Regions from separate parts of the Homo sapiens genome. Here regions 2 and 3 are each linked to region 1. Evidence: promoter capture Hi-C in 16 types of primary human blood cells and fetal thymus (Javierre and others, 2016). All regions are on one chromosome and are shown on one strand. Each heading gives the region's core, a stretch centred on a gene start or on the middle of the fragment in contact. The rest is flanking DNA. Distances are from core to core; before and after follow the strand shown. Region 1 holds the start of CELF6 (CUGBP Elav-like family member 6). Region 2 overlaps ARIH1 (ariadne RBR E3 ubiquitin protein ligase 1). Region 3 overlaps ARIH1 (ariadne RBR E3 ubiquitin protein ligase 1).

Region 1 (4,946 bases), core at 431-2,930:
TGGTGGTGGTGGGGGAGGAGATAAGAGTGTTCCTTCTCAAATCATCTCCCCTTCTCCTGCCCATGTATGACATGTGACTCTGGCTCTCTTACTCCAGCCCTGCCTGGACAGACTTTTCTGCATGTAAACAAGCCTCCTCCCTCTCTCTACAGGAAGAAAGGGGTGTGGCCGAACAGGACCGTGTATCTCTCTAGAAAGGGCAGGGAGAAGATCTCCTTCTGTCTCTTCAGCCTGACTCACCCTGAGAATGGGCCTGGACTGGGACCAGCCTGTGAGGGGAGGGAAAGAAAGAGGCCATAAAGAGGACTGGGGAGGAGCAAAGAAGAGGCACAGGAGTGAGGGGATTAGAGAAGGAAAGAAGTGTGGATTTAGCTGAGAGAAATCCAAGAAGAAAGGGACACAGGGTGGCAGGAGTTCCCAGCTGAGGTCAGGGTTCTGAACTGAAATCAAAAGAGGTAGAGTGCATTGGGATTCTGGCGAAGGGCAGGAGAGATTGGGGCTGTTGTTGAACATGAGGGGGTGTCTGGAACTGAGAGCCTCCTGGGAATTGAATTGGATTTTGTGTTAGACAGGTCTGGGTTCTGAAGAAGGGGAGGGTTTGGGTCTGCGGTGTTTTAGGTTGGCAGTCTGAGAGTCAAAAGAAGGCTCTTGAGGGGGATGGCCGGACTAGGAGGCCAGAGGAGGGGTGCAAGTCCAAGATATGCATGTGGGTGGTTAGGCCTGAGTGAGGTGCCACCAGATGGAGGATTCAGGAGTGTTTGGGCTCAGGGTTTGGGAAATTGAGGGTATTCGAGATCTAGAAGGTGGAATAAGTTTTCAAATTCCAGAATTTTAGGTCTGATGGGAGAGGTGGTGGAAAGGTCCAATTGAAAGGCAGGGACTGCTGGGATGTGAGAGGTGGAGGCCAGGAATTTGGAGGTTAGAGTGGAGAACATGTTAGGGGACCACAGTGATAATCAGAGGGAGGATGTCAGAGAGAAAATTCTGTGATCTGGGAAGGGGGCTGGGCTGAGGTGGGGCTGATATTGGACTGGTGTTGGACTGGCTCTCGGCAGGGCTAGGGCTGGGGCTGGGCTGGGGTCGGGCCACACTCTAATCGGATTGGGGCTGGGCTGGGCTGGGCTGACCCCGCGCACCTTTGTGGAGGCCGGTGAGCCGGTCCTTCAGCACCGTCAGCTCGTAGATGCGGCCGAACTCCTCGAACAGCGGCTTGAGGTCCTGCTCGTCCAAGCCCCGCGGGATCTGCCCCACGAAGAGCTTGATGGCGTCGTGGTCCTTCATGGGTACGGCGGGACCGGGGTTTAGCCCGCTCATGCCGACGCCGCTGTCCGCGGTGCTGAAACCCAGGCGCGGGCCGGGGCCAGCGGGCTGCGCTGACCCTCCCGGCGCCGCGGCCATGTCCCCGCCCTGTCAGCCCTCCCGCCGGTCCCACTGGTCCCGCCTGTCCCGCCGTCCCCTCCCTGGACCGGTGGCGAGGGCCAGGGGGAGGGGGCGGAGCCCGGGCGGAGAGGGCGGGGGGCTGCCCAGGGGGCGGGGTCCGGGTGGAGGGGCGTAGAGGGGGTGGGGCGGGCAGGAAAGGGGCGGGGCCGGGGCGGGGCGGGCCCGGGCCGAGGTGGCGGCTGAACGCTGGGGTCTGGCTTGAGGTCCCCGTGCGGCTCTCTCTGGGCTCCCGCCCGAGCTCTCCCAGAGCCGAGCCCCGAGCCCCAGCCCCCGTGCTTGGTGACGTCAGGCAGCTGGCCGCCGAGTCTACGCAAATGATTTGCATAATGAGGAAGCAGCCGCCAATCAGAGTGGGAGTTGACTGGGCTCGCCGGGGGCGGGGGGGGCGGCTGGGCTCACGCGCTCCTGCTCGCCATGGCAACCGGACCCTCGAATGCCCTGTGTGTGTCGAGTGTGTGCGGGCGTGGCCGTGGATCGCGCGTGTGCGCCTTGGGCCGCGTGAGGGGAAGCAGCTTCGTCATGCGTGATGGTGTCTGCCGGAGTCGGGGCTAATCCCCACCGCACACACAGGCACACACAGGCAAACGCAGGCACACGCAGGCACACACACCTCCAAACGCTGGTGCGTTTCCTGCGGGGGTGGATGGGGATTCCTCTTCTCTATTCCCACTATCGAGCCAGTCCCTCGGAGCCAATCCCACCCCGCCCCATCACACATCTCTGTCTTCGGTGTCTTTAACCACTTTCTTACCCCTGAGCCTCAGACACATTCGTCTCCCTTGCAGCCTTAAAAAGAAAGGAAGAATAAAATAAAAACCCCTTAAACACTCCTTGAACACGGATTCCTCCTTAGGAGAGTGAGGGAACTTAGCCGTATTTACTCAGAACCCATTATGCACCAGGTGCCCAGTTCATCCCAGTTCTGTGAACTCAGGAGTGTTCTCTTTTTCCGGAAAAGGAAGCTGAGGTTCTGAGGGTCGAGGATGTTAGGGCCAGGCCCACCCCAACATTTGTTGGGCCCAGCGCAAAATAAGAAATGGAAATCGACATACTGTGCATCTAAACATTTAAAAGATACAAATCAAATTACAATTTGTTAAATATGTTCCCCTCTTATTTTCACAAATACAGGTTCAGAATTACGAAAATGAAAGACATATGTACAGCTACGCTTTCTATATGACTGAAAGTTGGCAAAATATCAGAGCTGATGGAATTTTATTACTCCTGCACATGTCTAGGTATTCTCTTGATGGATCAGTGATGTTTGCACAAAGTAGTAATACAATGTTTGGACAAAGACACATACTTCATAAATTATATATTTATTCCATAATATATTTTTCATGCCTCTTTCAGTAAAATTGCTAATTATTTTAATAGAGATTTCCTTTTTTTTTTTTTGATAGGTTATCATTCTGTCACCCAGGCTGTAGTGCAGTGGTGCGATCTAAGATCACTGCAGCCTCAACCTCCTGGGTTCAAGCGATCCTCCCACCTAAGCCTCCCAAGTAGCTGGGATGACAGGTGCACGCTACCATGCCTGGATAATTTTTTTTCTTTTTTTTTTTTTGTAGAGATGGTGGTTTCACCATTCTGCCCAGGCTTGTCTAGAACACTCCTGAGCTCAAGTGATCCACCCACCTCGGTGCCCCAGAGTGCTGGGATTACAGGAGTGTGCCACTGCACCTGGCCTAATAGAGATTTTAACATAACTTGTGTCCATTGACTATTCTAAGAAACTGCTGGAGACCAGCAGTAGCAACTGGAATCATCAAAAAGTTCTTAAAACAATATTCAATTCAGAAGCAAATCATGATTTTTAAATGATTTATTTTTCTGGCTGAGCATGGTGACTCACACCTGTAATCCCAGCACTTTGGGAGGCCAAGGCGGGCAGATCACTTGAGGTCAGGAGTTCAAGACCAGCCTGGCCAACATGACAATATCCCGTCTCTACTAAAAATACAAAAATTAGCCAGGCATGGTGGCGGGCTCCTCCTACTCTGGAGGCTGAAGCAGGAGAATCGTTTGAACCCACGAGGTGGAGGTTGCAATGAGCCAAGATCGTGTCACTGCACTCCAGCCTGGGTGACAGAGTGAGATTCCATCTCAAAAAAAAAAAAAAAATGCAGCAGCAAATTATGATTTTCAAAAATCATTTTTCTGGCGGGATGCGGTGGCTCACACCAGTAATCCCAGCACTTCAGGAGGCCGAGGTGGGTGGATTGCTTGAGATCAGGAGTTTGAGACCAGCCTGGCCAATATGGCAAAACCCCATTTTTACTAAATGAATAAATAAATAAAATAAATTATTTTTCTCCTTTAACAGAAAGTTACTCCTTGTAATAAGTTGACCACGAAATGGGTTACTGGAATTTCATTTTCATTCAGTCCTATGTAGTTTTTTTTTTTTTTTTTTTTTTGAGATGGAGTCTTGCTCTGTCGCCCAGGTTGGAGTGCACTGGCCCGATCTCAGCTCACTGCAAGCTCCGCTTCCCGGGTTCACGCCATTCTCCTGCCTCAGCCTCCCGAGTAGCTGGGACTACGGTTGCCCGCCACTACGCCCAGCTAATTTTTTTTGTATTTTTAGTAGAGATGGCGTTTCACCATGTTAGCCAGGATGGTCTCGATCTCCCGAGCTCGTGATCTGCTTGCCTAGGCCTCCCAAAGTGCTGGGATTACAGGTGTGAGCCACCATGCCTGGCCCAGTCCTATGTATTTTTTAAAATTTTCACCCCAAAAGTAGTAAAACAATTCAAAAATCAGAACAAAGTTCTCTGCAGAAAAAGAAAAATACAGTAAAAAATTTCCTTGAGGCTTCCTCTTTGATCCATATATTATTTATAAATGTATTGTTTAGTTTCTAAGTGTTTGGAGGTTTGCCTATTATTTTTCTGTTATTGATTTCTAGTTTGAGTCCATTGTGGTCAGAACACACTGTGTATAATTTCAATTTTTTTTTTTTTGAGATGGAGTCTCGCTTTTGTCACCCAGGCTGGAGTGCAGTGGCGTGATCTTGGCTCACTGCAACCTCTGCTTCCCGGGTTCAAGCAATTCTCCTGCCTCAGCCTCCTGAGTAGCTGGGATTGCAGGCACCCGCCACCATGCCCGGCTAATTTTTGTACTTTTAGTAGAGATGGGGTTTCACCATGTAGTCCAGTCTGGTCTCCAACTCCTGACCTCAGGTGATCCGCCTGCCTCAGCCTCCCAAAGTGCTGGGATTACAGGTGTGAGCCACTGAGCCTGGCCTCAATTCTTTTGCATTTGTTGAGGTTTGTTTTGCTACCCTCAGTCCCAAGCCTGGGACTACAGGCGCCTGCCACCACACTCAGCTATTTTTTTTGTATTTTTAGTAGAGATGGGGTCTCACCATGTTGGCCAGGCTGGTCTCAAACTCCTGACCTCAAGTGATCCGCTCCCCTTGGCCTCCCAAAGTGCTGGGATTAAAGGTGTGAGCCACTGTGCCCAACCTTGTATTTTTAGTAGAGAAGCGGTTTCACCAT
Region 2 (4,440 bases), core at 1,516-4,015, 190 kb after region 1:
GATATATTTGGCCTGGGGTTTGTGGCTTGTTTAAAAGCTTCCTAGATGGCTGTGCACAGTGGCTCATTCCTATAATCCCTGTGTTTTGGGAGGCTGAAGCTGGAGGATTGCATGAGCCCAGGAATTTGAGACCAGCCTGGGCAACATAGCAAGATCCTGTCTTTAAATAAAAATAAATAAATAAATAACAGTCAATTAAGAGCTTATGTGCTACTAAAATTGAGAACTACTTGATCAAAGGATAGGGGATGATGGTGCAATTGATGTTAAAGCTTCAGCTAGGACAGTTGACATAATCAGACTTACTAATCAACTTTTTCAAAATGCAAAACTTTAAAGTAAATACAGCTGCTCTGAGCCTGGAATGTTATTTTCTTTAGATTACTAAAATACTATACTGCCACATTCATGGGAGTTCTACAGATGTACTTTTTCGGAGCCTGTGTAGTGGGAAATTGTTTAGAGCAGTAGTTCCCAGTTCTGTCTGCATGTTAGGATCATCTGGGGACCTTCAGATAAAAATGTTGGATGAAAATATATATATTCATATTCTACCCTTGACAGTTGAATCAGAATTGCTGGGGGCAAAGCCCAATTAATGGTATTTTTTAAGTTCCTCAGGAGATTCTTATATGTAGCCAGAATGGACAGGGGTGGGTGGTACTGATTTAGAGTTATAACTAGACAAGATGTAAGGTTTTAGGTTGTTCTATTGTCCTAAAAGTTAAATGTACTGCTGCTAGTATTAGTACTAGTTTTCTGATTATAGTGATTTTACTCAAACTGTTTTTGTTTGGTTTGTTTATATCCTTTAAAAAGGATGAAGAGCTCTTTATTTCAGCCAAGAGCTTGAATTGGCTTTTCACTGAACTATCAGTTTTGGTGGCACACCGAAGTGAATTTCTCTCCTTTGACAAGTCCTTGTAGGGAGTGGTGCTATAATCATAAATTAAAAAATAATTTCTCCATGTATTCAAATCCTACTAGCCTATTTTATCCTGGACCAAGACACTTAACCTCTGTAACCTCATCTGTAAAATGTAAATCATATCTAACTTGCATAAAATATTGATGTGAGTATTAAATGAAATAATGTATATAAAGTATCTAGCATTGTGCCCGGCACTAAATAATTTCAAATCTATGTTCTCCTTTTCAGCATTCCCTTTTACTCTCATTGTTCTTTCTTTCTTTTTTTTTTTTTTTTGAGACGGAGTCTCTCTCTATCACCCAGGCTGGAGTGTAGTGGTGCAGTCTCGGCTCACTGCAACCTCCACGTCCCGGGTTCAAGCAATTCTCCTGTCTCAGACTCCCGAGTAGCTGGGACTACAGGCATACGCCACCATGCCCGGCTAATTTTTGTATTTTTAGTAGAGATGAGGTTTCACCATATTGGTCAGGCTGGTCTCAAACTCCTGACTTTAGGTGATCTACCCGCCTTAGCTTCCCAAAGTGCTGGGATTACAGGTGTGAGCCACTGTGCCTGGCCCTTTTTTTTTTTTTTTGAGACTGAGTCTTGCTCTGTTGCCCAGGCTGGGTGCAGTGGCCTGATCTCAGCTCACTGCAACCTCCGCTTCCTGGGTTCAGGTGATTCTCATGCCTCAGCCACCCAAGTAGCTGGGACTACAGGCGTGCATCACCACTCCCAGCTAATGTTTATATTTTTAGTAGAGACAAGGTTTCATCATGTTGGTCAGCCTGGCCTTGAAGTCCTGACCTTAAGTGATCACCTGCCTCGGTCTCCCAAAGTGGTGGGATTACAGGTGTGAGCCACCACACCTGGCCCACATTGTTCTTTTTAAAAGAACTTCACTACAGGTGCTCCAGTGCAGGCTAGATTACGTTTATAGTTGAATACTTTAAGTTTCATACAATAAAATTTACACTGGAGCATACAGTTCTCTGAGTTTTGATAAATGCCTAGAGTTGTGTAAACCACCACCATAGTTAATTTACAGAACAGTTTCCCCTCACCATCACCCCTCAAATTTCTTTCTACCCCATTGTTTAGTCAAACCCTCCCCCACCTTTAATATTTGGCAGCTCTGGATTTGTACCCTATCCTTACTTATTTATTTCTATTTATTTTCACTCATTCATTTAAGACAGGGTCTTACTCTTTCGCCCAGGCTGGAATGCAGTGATGCGATCATAGGTCACTACAGCCTTGTGCTACTGGACTCAAGGGATCCTACTCACCTCAGTCTCTAGAGTAGCTGGGACTACAGGCATGTGTGTCATCATGCCTGGCTAATTTTTTAAAAATTTTTAGTAGAGGTCTTGCTTTGTTGCCCAGGCTAGTCTGAAACTCTTGGGCTCAAGCAGTCCTCCCGCCTTGGCCCCTCAAAGTGTTGGGATTACAGGTGTGACACCAATCGCCCACTCCAGCCCCACCTTTTTTTTTTTTTTTCCCCAAAGAGAGATGGGGCCTCACTGTGTTGTCCAGGCTAGAGTGCAGTGACTGTTCACAGATGGGATCCTAGCACACTACATCTTTGAACTCCTTAGCTCAAGTGATCCTCCTGCCTCAGCCTCCTGAGTACCTGGGACTACAGGGATCTCCCACCTCTTCTGGCCTGAGCCCTGTAATTTTGCCTTTTCCACTGTGTCATTTAAATAGAATTGTAAATCAATTTTTAAAATGGGCTTTTATTTTCTTGTTAGGTTTTTAGATTTTTAAAAAATTATTCTAGGTACAAATTCTTCATCAGAAATGTAATTTGCAGGTATCTTCTCCTAGTCTGTGGTATATCTTGTATTTTCTTAACAGTATCTTTTACTTTCGATGGATTTCAGTGTATCCGTTTTCTCTAATGGATTGTGCTTTTGATGTATGTACGAACTATTTGTGTAACTCAAGGTCACAAACATTTTCTTTAAGTTTTACAGTCTGATTTACATTTGGGTCTGATCCATTATTAATTTTGTATTAAATGTGAGCTAAAGTACATTTTAAAAATATGTACATCTTAATTATTCCAGTACTACCCAGCACTTTGGGAGGCCGAGGCGGGTGGATCACGAGGTCAGGAGATCGAGACCATCCTGGCTAACATGGTGAAAGCCCATCTCTACTAAAAAAATTAGGCGGGCTTGGTGGTGGGCGCCTGTATTCCCAGCTACTGGGGAGGCTGAGGCAGCAGAATGATGTGAATCCGGGAGGCGGAGCTTGCAGTGAGCCGAGATCACGCCACTGCACTCCAGCCTGGGCAACAGAGCAAGACTCTGACTCAAAAAAAAAAAAAAAAAAAAAAAAAAAAAAAAAAGACTTTTTCCCCGTTGAATTGTTTTATCACTTTTGTAAAAGATCACTTTTGCTGTATTTATGTGGGTCTATTTCTGGTCTCCATTCCATTCTTTTGATCTGTATATCTTTTTGCCAGTACTGTAACTTCATAGTTATGTTTTGAAATCAGGTGTTCTGTTTTAAAATTTTTCAAAATTTGGCCACTCTAGTTTCCTTGGTATTCCATATAAAATTTAGAATCACTTTGATGTTTATCCAAAAAATATTTGGAGTTTGATTGGCATTGAGTGGAATCTATAGGTCAGTTTGGGAAGAATTAACATTTTAATTATGTTGTTTTCCAATCCATGAAGATGGCATCTCTCTCCATTATTTAGGTCTTATTAAAATTTCTTTCATCAATATTTTGCAGTTTTCCGTGTACACGTTCTTCACATATTAAATTTATACCTATGTATTTCACGTTTTGGTGCTATTGTAAGTGGCACTTTAAATTTTTTTGATCTTCAGTTATTCATTACTAGTATGTAAAAATATAGCTGATCTTTTCTTTCTTTCTTTCTTTTTTGAGATGGAGTTTTGCTCTTGTTGTCCAGGCTGGAGTGCAGTGGCGCCATCTTGGCTCACTTGTAACCTCCGCTTCCCGGGTTCAAGTGATTGTCCTGCCTCAGTCTCCTGAGTAGCTGAGATTACAGGCGTCTGCCACCATGCCCTGCTAATTTTTTGTATTTTTAGTAGAAATGGGGTTTCATCATGTTGGCCAGGCTGGTCTTGAACTCCTCACCTCAGGTGATCCACACACCTTGGCCTCTCAAAGTGCTAGGATTACAGGCATGAACCACCGTGCCTGGCCCAGCTGATCTTTTTATATTGGCCTTGGACTTCGCTAAACTCATTTCTTCTAGGAATTTTTTGTAGATTAATGGGATTTTCTGCATAGCCACATACATAGTCATCTGATTAGAAACAGCTTTTTTCCTTTCCAATTTCTTTTATTTCTTTTTCTTGCCATATTGTATTTGTAAGACTCCGTCCAGTACAGAGTTGACTGAGAGTGACTGGGCAGCTGGCCTAGAAGTGCCTCTTCTAGGCACTTCTTTTTCGTTTCCTAGTTTGCTGAGAGATTTTTATAGTAGTGGATGTTGAATTTTGTCAAATGCTTTATTTATATCCTATCCTGTGACTTTTCTTCA
Region 3 (4,478 bases), core at 1,924-4,423, 240 kb after region 1:
TGGATATGAGGCTTTTGTTGGGTGTATAATTTTTAAATATTTTCTCTCATTCTGTAGGTTGTCTGTTTACTCTGTTAATAGTTTCTTCAGCTGTACAGAAGCTCATTAGTTTAATTAAGTCCCACTTGTCAATTTTTGCTTTTGTTGCAGTTGCGTTTGGGGACTTAGTCATAAATTCTTTGCCAAGGCTGATGTCTAGAATGGTATTTCCTGGATTTTCTTTTAAGATTTTTATAGATTGAGCTCTTACATTAAAGTATTTAATCCTTTAGTTAATTTTTGTATATGGTGAAAGATATAGGGGTCAAGTTTCATTCTTCTGCATGTGGCTAGCTAGTTATCCCAACAACCATTTATGTGTGTGTGGCTATTATCGATAGGATTGCATTATTAATTTGGCGCTTACCTTGAATGTTATTGGTATATATTAAATGCTACTGAATTTTGTACATTGATTTTGTATCCTGAAATTTTACTGACTTTGTCAGCTCTAGGAGCCTTTTGGCAGAGTCTTTAGGGTTATTTCTAGGTATAGAATCATCATCAGTGAAGATTGATAGTTTGACTTCTTTTCTTATTTAGATACATTTTATTTCTTTCTCTTGCCTGATTGCTCTGGCCAGGACTTCCAGTACTATGTTGAATAGGAGTGGTGAGTGTGGGCATCCTTTTCCTAAGTGGAATGCTTCCAGCCTTTGCCTGTTCAGTATGATGTTGGCTATGGGTTTGTCATATCATAGATGGCTCTTAATGTTTTGAGGTATGTTCCTTCAAAGCCTAGTTTGTTGATAGTTTTTATCATGAAGAGATGTTGGACTTTATTGAAAGCTTTTTCTGTGTCATTTGAGATGATCGTATGGTTTTTAATTCTGTTTATGTGGTGAATTACATTTATTGGTTTGCCCAGGCTGGAGTACAAGTGGCACCATATCGGCTCACTGCAACCTCTGCCTCCCGGGTTCAAGCAATTCTCCTGCCTCAGCCTCCTGAGTAGCTGAGATTACAGGTGTACACCATCACGTCCGGATAAGTTTTGTATTTTTAGTAGAGACAGAGTTTCGTCATGTTGGCCAGGCTGTTCTCGAACTCCTGACCTCAGGCGATCTGCCCGCCTTGGCCTTCCAAAGTGCTAGGATTACAGGCGTGAGCCACCAAGCCTGGCCAATAACTATTTTCAATTTGTGATGGTAACAAATCTTTGTCAAGAGAATTGTCTTATTAATGACCAGAGTGACACTTGCTGCCACCTTCTTGAGAATGCCTATTCTTGAAGATGGATGCTCACTTTCTTTTACTTCCTTATCAATATCAGATAAACTAAGGGTGGAACCTTGTCCTAATAACTGTTGGCTGATGTTTGCTCTCACGTCCTGGTGGTCCATGCCAGGTTTAGATAGCTTTTTAGGCTAAGGCCAGCTATCAGAAATCATTAGGGTTTGTCATACCAGAAAAGCATTATGGGTAATACATGTGTAAATAAGATGTGTGTGTTTGGCAATCAAGGCATCTGACTTTTGGCCTGATACATTCCTTATTATTATTTATTGATATAAAATCTGTAATATAAAACTCATTTTAATTACAGTTATCCTTAGTATACTGGGGATTGGTTCTAGGACCCACGTCCTCCACCCTGAATATACCAAAATCTGCGCATGCTCATGTCAGCCCAGCAGAACCCATGTATACAAAAATTTGACCGTCCATATATGCAGGTTTCACATCCCACAAATAACTATTTTTGATCCCTGTTTGGTTGAAAAATATTCATAAATAAGTGGACCCATGCAGTTCAAACCTGTGTTGTTTAAGAAGCAATGGGGTTTTTTTTGTTTTTTGTTTTTTTAAGATGGAATCTCTCTCTGTTGCCCAGAGTGGAGTGCAGTAGTGGCATGATCTCGGCTCACTGCAACCTCTACCTCCTAGGTTCAAGTGATTCTCCTGCCTCAGCCTCCTGAGTAGCTGGGATTACAGGTGCCTGCCACCATGCTCGGCTAATTTTTTTGTATTTTTAGTAGAGACGAGGTTTCACCATGTTGGCCAGGCTGGTTTTGAACTCCTGACCCCAAGTGATCACCCACCTCTGCCTCCCAAAGTGCTAAGATTACGGGCGTGAGCAACCGCACATGGCCAGCAACTGTATTTTTAAGTATATTATCCAGTGGCTTTTAGTATATACATAATATTATTCTACAAACATCACCTAATTGCAGACTATTTTAATCACCTTATATCCGTTAAGCAGTCATTCGCTATTCCTTTCTCCCCCTAGACCCTAGCAACCACTCATCTGCTTTCTGTCTTTGTGGATTAGCCTATTCTAGACATTTCATATAAAGGGAATCATGTAATATGTTGCCTTTTGTGATTGGCTTCTTTAATGTTTTCAAGATTCATCCATGTTGTATCATGAATCATCACTTTACTCCTTTTCATTGCTGAATAATGGTTCCATTATATGGACATTTCCATTTTTTACGGAAATGTCTTATGTGAACATATGAACATTTGTGTACAAGTTTTTCATTGAACATCTGTTTTTAATTCTCTTAAGTATATATATTTCAAAGGAGAATTCCTGGGTCTTGTGGTAATGCTATGTTTAACTTTTTGAGGAACCATCAAATACACAAATTATTTTTAGACCGCAGGTTCCACTTCTGTGAAATATGGAGATTTACTCATTTAAAAAATATTAATTGAACACTTTCTACAGGCGTACTGGACACCTGGGGATCCTTTCATGGGGTTGGGAGGAGAAAGACAGATATTAAACAAATGATTATACAGATAACTGTCTAATTAAAATTATGATAATTTCTATAAAGTAGATGTTTAAGGTGCCATGAGAACTGAGAGGGTATCTATATCCAAACGAGTGTGGAAACTCAGGAAAGGCTTCCTTGAGTAATACTTTATTGTAACTGAGTGAAGTAATACAGTAATAGCGTCTAATATTTATTGAGTGCTTACTATCTGCCAGGCACTATTCTAGTCTCACAACCATGTTTCTGATATCTATTTTACAGATTAGTAACTGAGAAATGGAGAGTTCAAAGAATTTACCTTCAATTCATAGCTAGTGAGTTGTGAGGCTGGCATTCAAACCTAGGCTGTCCCACCTTAGAGCTCCATTACAATATTCTTGTCTTTCCAAGGGAGGCAGCCTTATGCACAGCCTCTGAGGAAGGGTGGTACTTACTGTTTTGAGGAAATACAAGAATACGAATGTGATAGGAGTGCACTGAAAGTGCCACAGGACAGGGTGGGATCTTGTGGAAGGAGAGAGGCCTATGAAGCTCAAGAGTCAAATGAGGCCAGATTGGTTCATTTAAAAGATTTTAATGGGGTTGAACTACATGCATGTTCTTCATGTCTTTCTCAGTGGGAATACACTCAGAGGAGTATTTACCATAGAACTAATGAAACTTAAACTTCAGGATTCCTCACTACGTGGGATCCTGTGAATTCTGGAAATTCTTGTGAGTTATAGTGTTCAGAAGAGGCCAGGATGCAGTCAGTGAGCATTTCTGGTTAATTTCTAAGAGCTCTCAGAAGAAGAAGGCTCTTAAAATTGTATCAGCTTTAGGTATCACAAAACCTGGATCCATTTCTTAACATTTCTGGCAACAATATCTGTCTCATTTCGCATACTGATTTGGGTGGGGTGTCTGAAGGAAGGTGGCTGAGAATTGCTGTCTTAAGGCATGATATGATATCAGAGTCAAAAGACCCTGAAATGCGCTTATACTTGGCACTAGTTGGTAAGTCATTAGGCTGTAATAAAAACTGGGTAAAAGTAGACTATTTAAAAAATAAGAACCATGGAAAAAAAGTCTATGAAAATAAAACTATACAAACTTTGAAATTATTGTTCTGATCAGTACAGTTATATTTGTTGATAGCCTATGTGCATTTCAGTATTTACAGCTTAGGGCATAAACATGTAGCCGTAGCATAAACAGCTTTTGAAACTATGTTTTATAAATGTGGAAAATACTCTTGACTGGAAACTTTCTAATCTATTTTTATTCTTGGTTTCAGGCGCCTGATCACAGATTCAAAAGTTAAATTAAAGTATCAGCATTTAATAACAAATAGCTTTGTAGAGGTAAGTGATTTGTTTTCCTTCTTGTAAGAAGGAATTCTGTTTATTAATAGAAATACTATTTTAAAAATTATAATTTATTGACAGTAAAAAACATCTTTAACATATTTATGAAGCATGCCAAAATACCTTTATTCTCAAAAGAGTATGACAGGCCAGGTGTGGTGGCTCATGCCTGTAATCCCAGCACTAAGGGAGGCCGAGGCGGGTGGATCACCTGAGATCAGGAGTTCAAGACCAACATGGCGAAACCCTGTCTCTTCTAAAAATACAAAAATTAGCTGGGCACAGTGGCACAAGCCTGTAATCCGAGCTACTCGGGAGGCTGAGGCAGGAGAATCGCTTGAACCCTGGAGGCAGAGGTTGCAGT

What was found. The method cuts DNA at HindIII sites, captures the fragments that hold promoters and counts their contacts. A CHiCAGO score of 5 or more calls a contact.
Region 2: a fragment that was not itself captured here is called in contact with the fragment with the promoter of CELF6 in region 1 in 2 of 17 cell types (monocytes and neutrophils); the score reaches 6.3 in monocytes.
Region 3: a contact is called between a fragment that was not itself captured here and the fragment with the promoter of CELF6 in region 1, in 1 of 17 cell types (monocytes). The highest score is 6.2, in monocytes.

What each region holds. Positions count from the first base shown.
Region 1 is chr15:72,318,477-72,323,422 of GRCh38, forward strand. It overlaps CELF6 (CUGBP Elav-like family member 6), which reads right to left and starts at 1,681. Exons shown (of 13, transcript NM_052840.5): 1 at 1,137-1,681. The coding sequence starts at 1,398. RefSeq lists silencers at 1,368-1,707, 1,768-1,817. The HindIII fragment of the contact is 9,541 bases long and covers 1-4,946 here.
Region 2 is chr15:72,507,505-72,511,944 of GRCh38, forward strand. All of the region lies in intron 1 of ARIH1 (ariadne RBR E3 ubiquitin protein ligase 1), which reads left to right. Among named protein-coding and RNA genes, the nearest start is that of ARIH1, 35 kb to the left of the region's middle. The HindIII fragment of the contact is 4,991 bases long and covers 271-4,440 here.
Region 3 is chr15:72,557,439-72,561,916 of GRCh38, forward strand. ARIH1 (ariadne RBR E3 ubiquitin protein ligase 1) reads left to right here. Exons shown (of 14, transcript NM_005744.5): 6 at 4,045-4,111. Among named protein-coding and RNA genes, the nearest start is that of MIR630, 28 kb to the right of the region's middle. The HindIII fragment of the contact is 4,694 bases long and covers 827-4,478 here.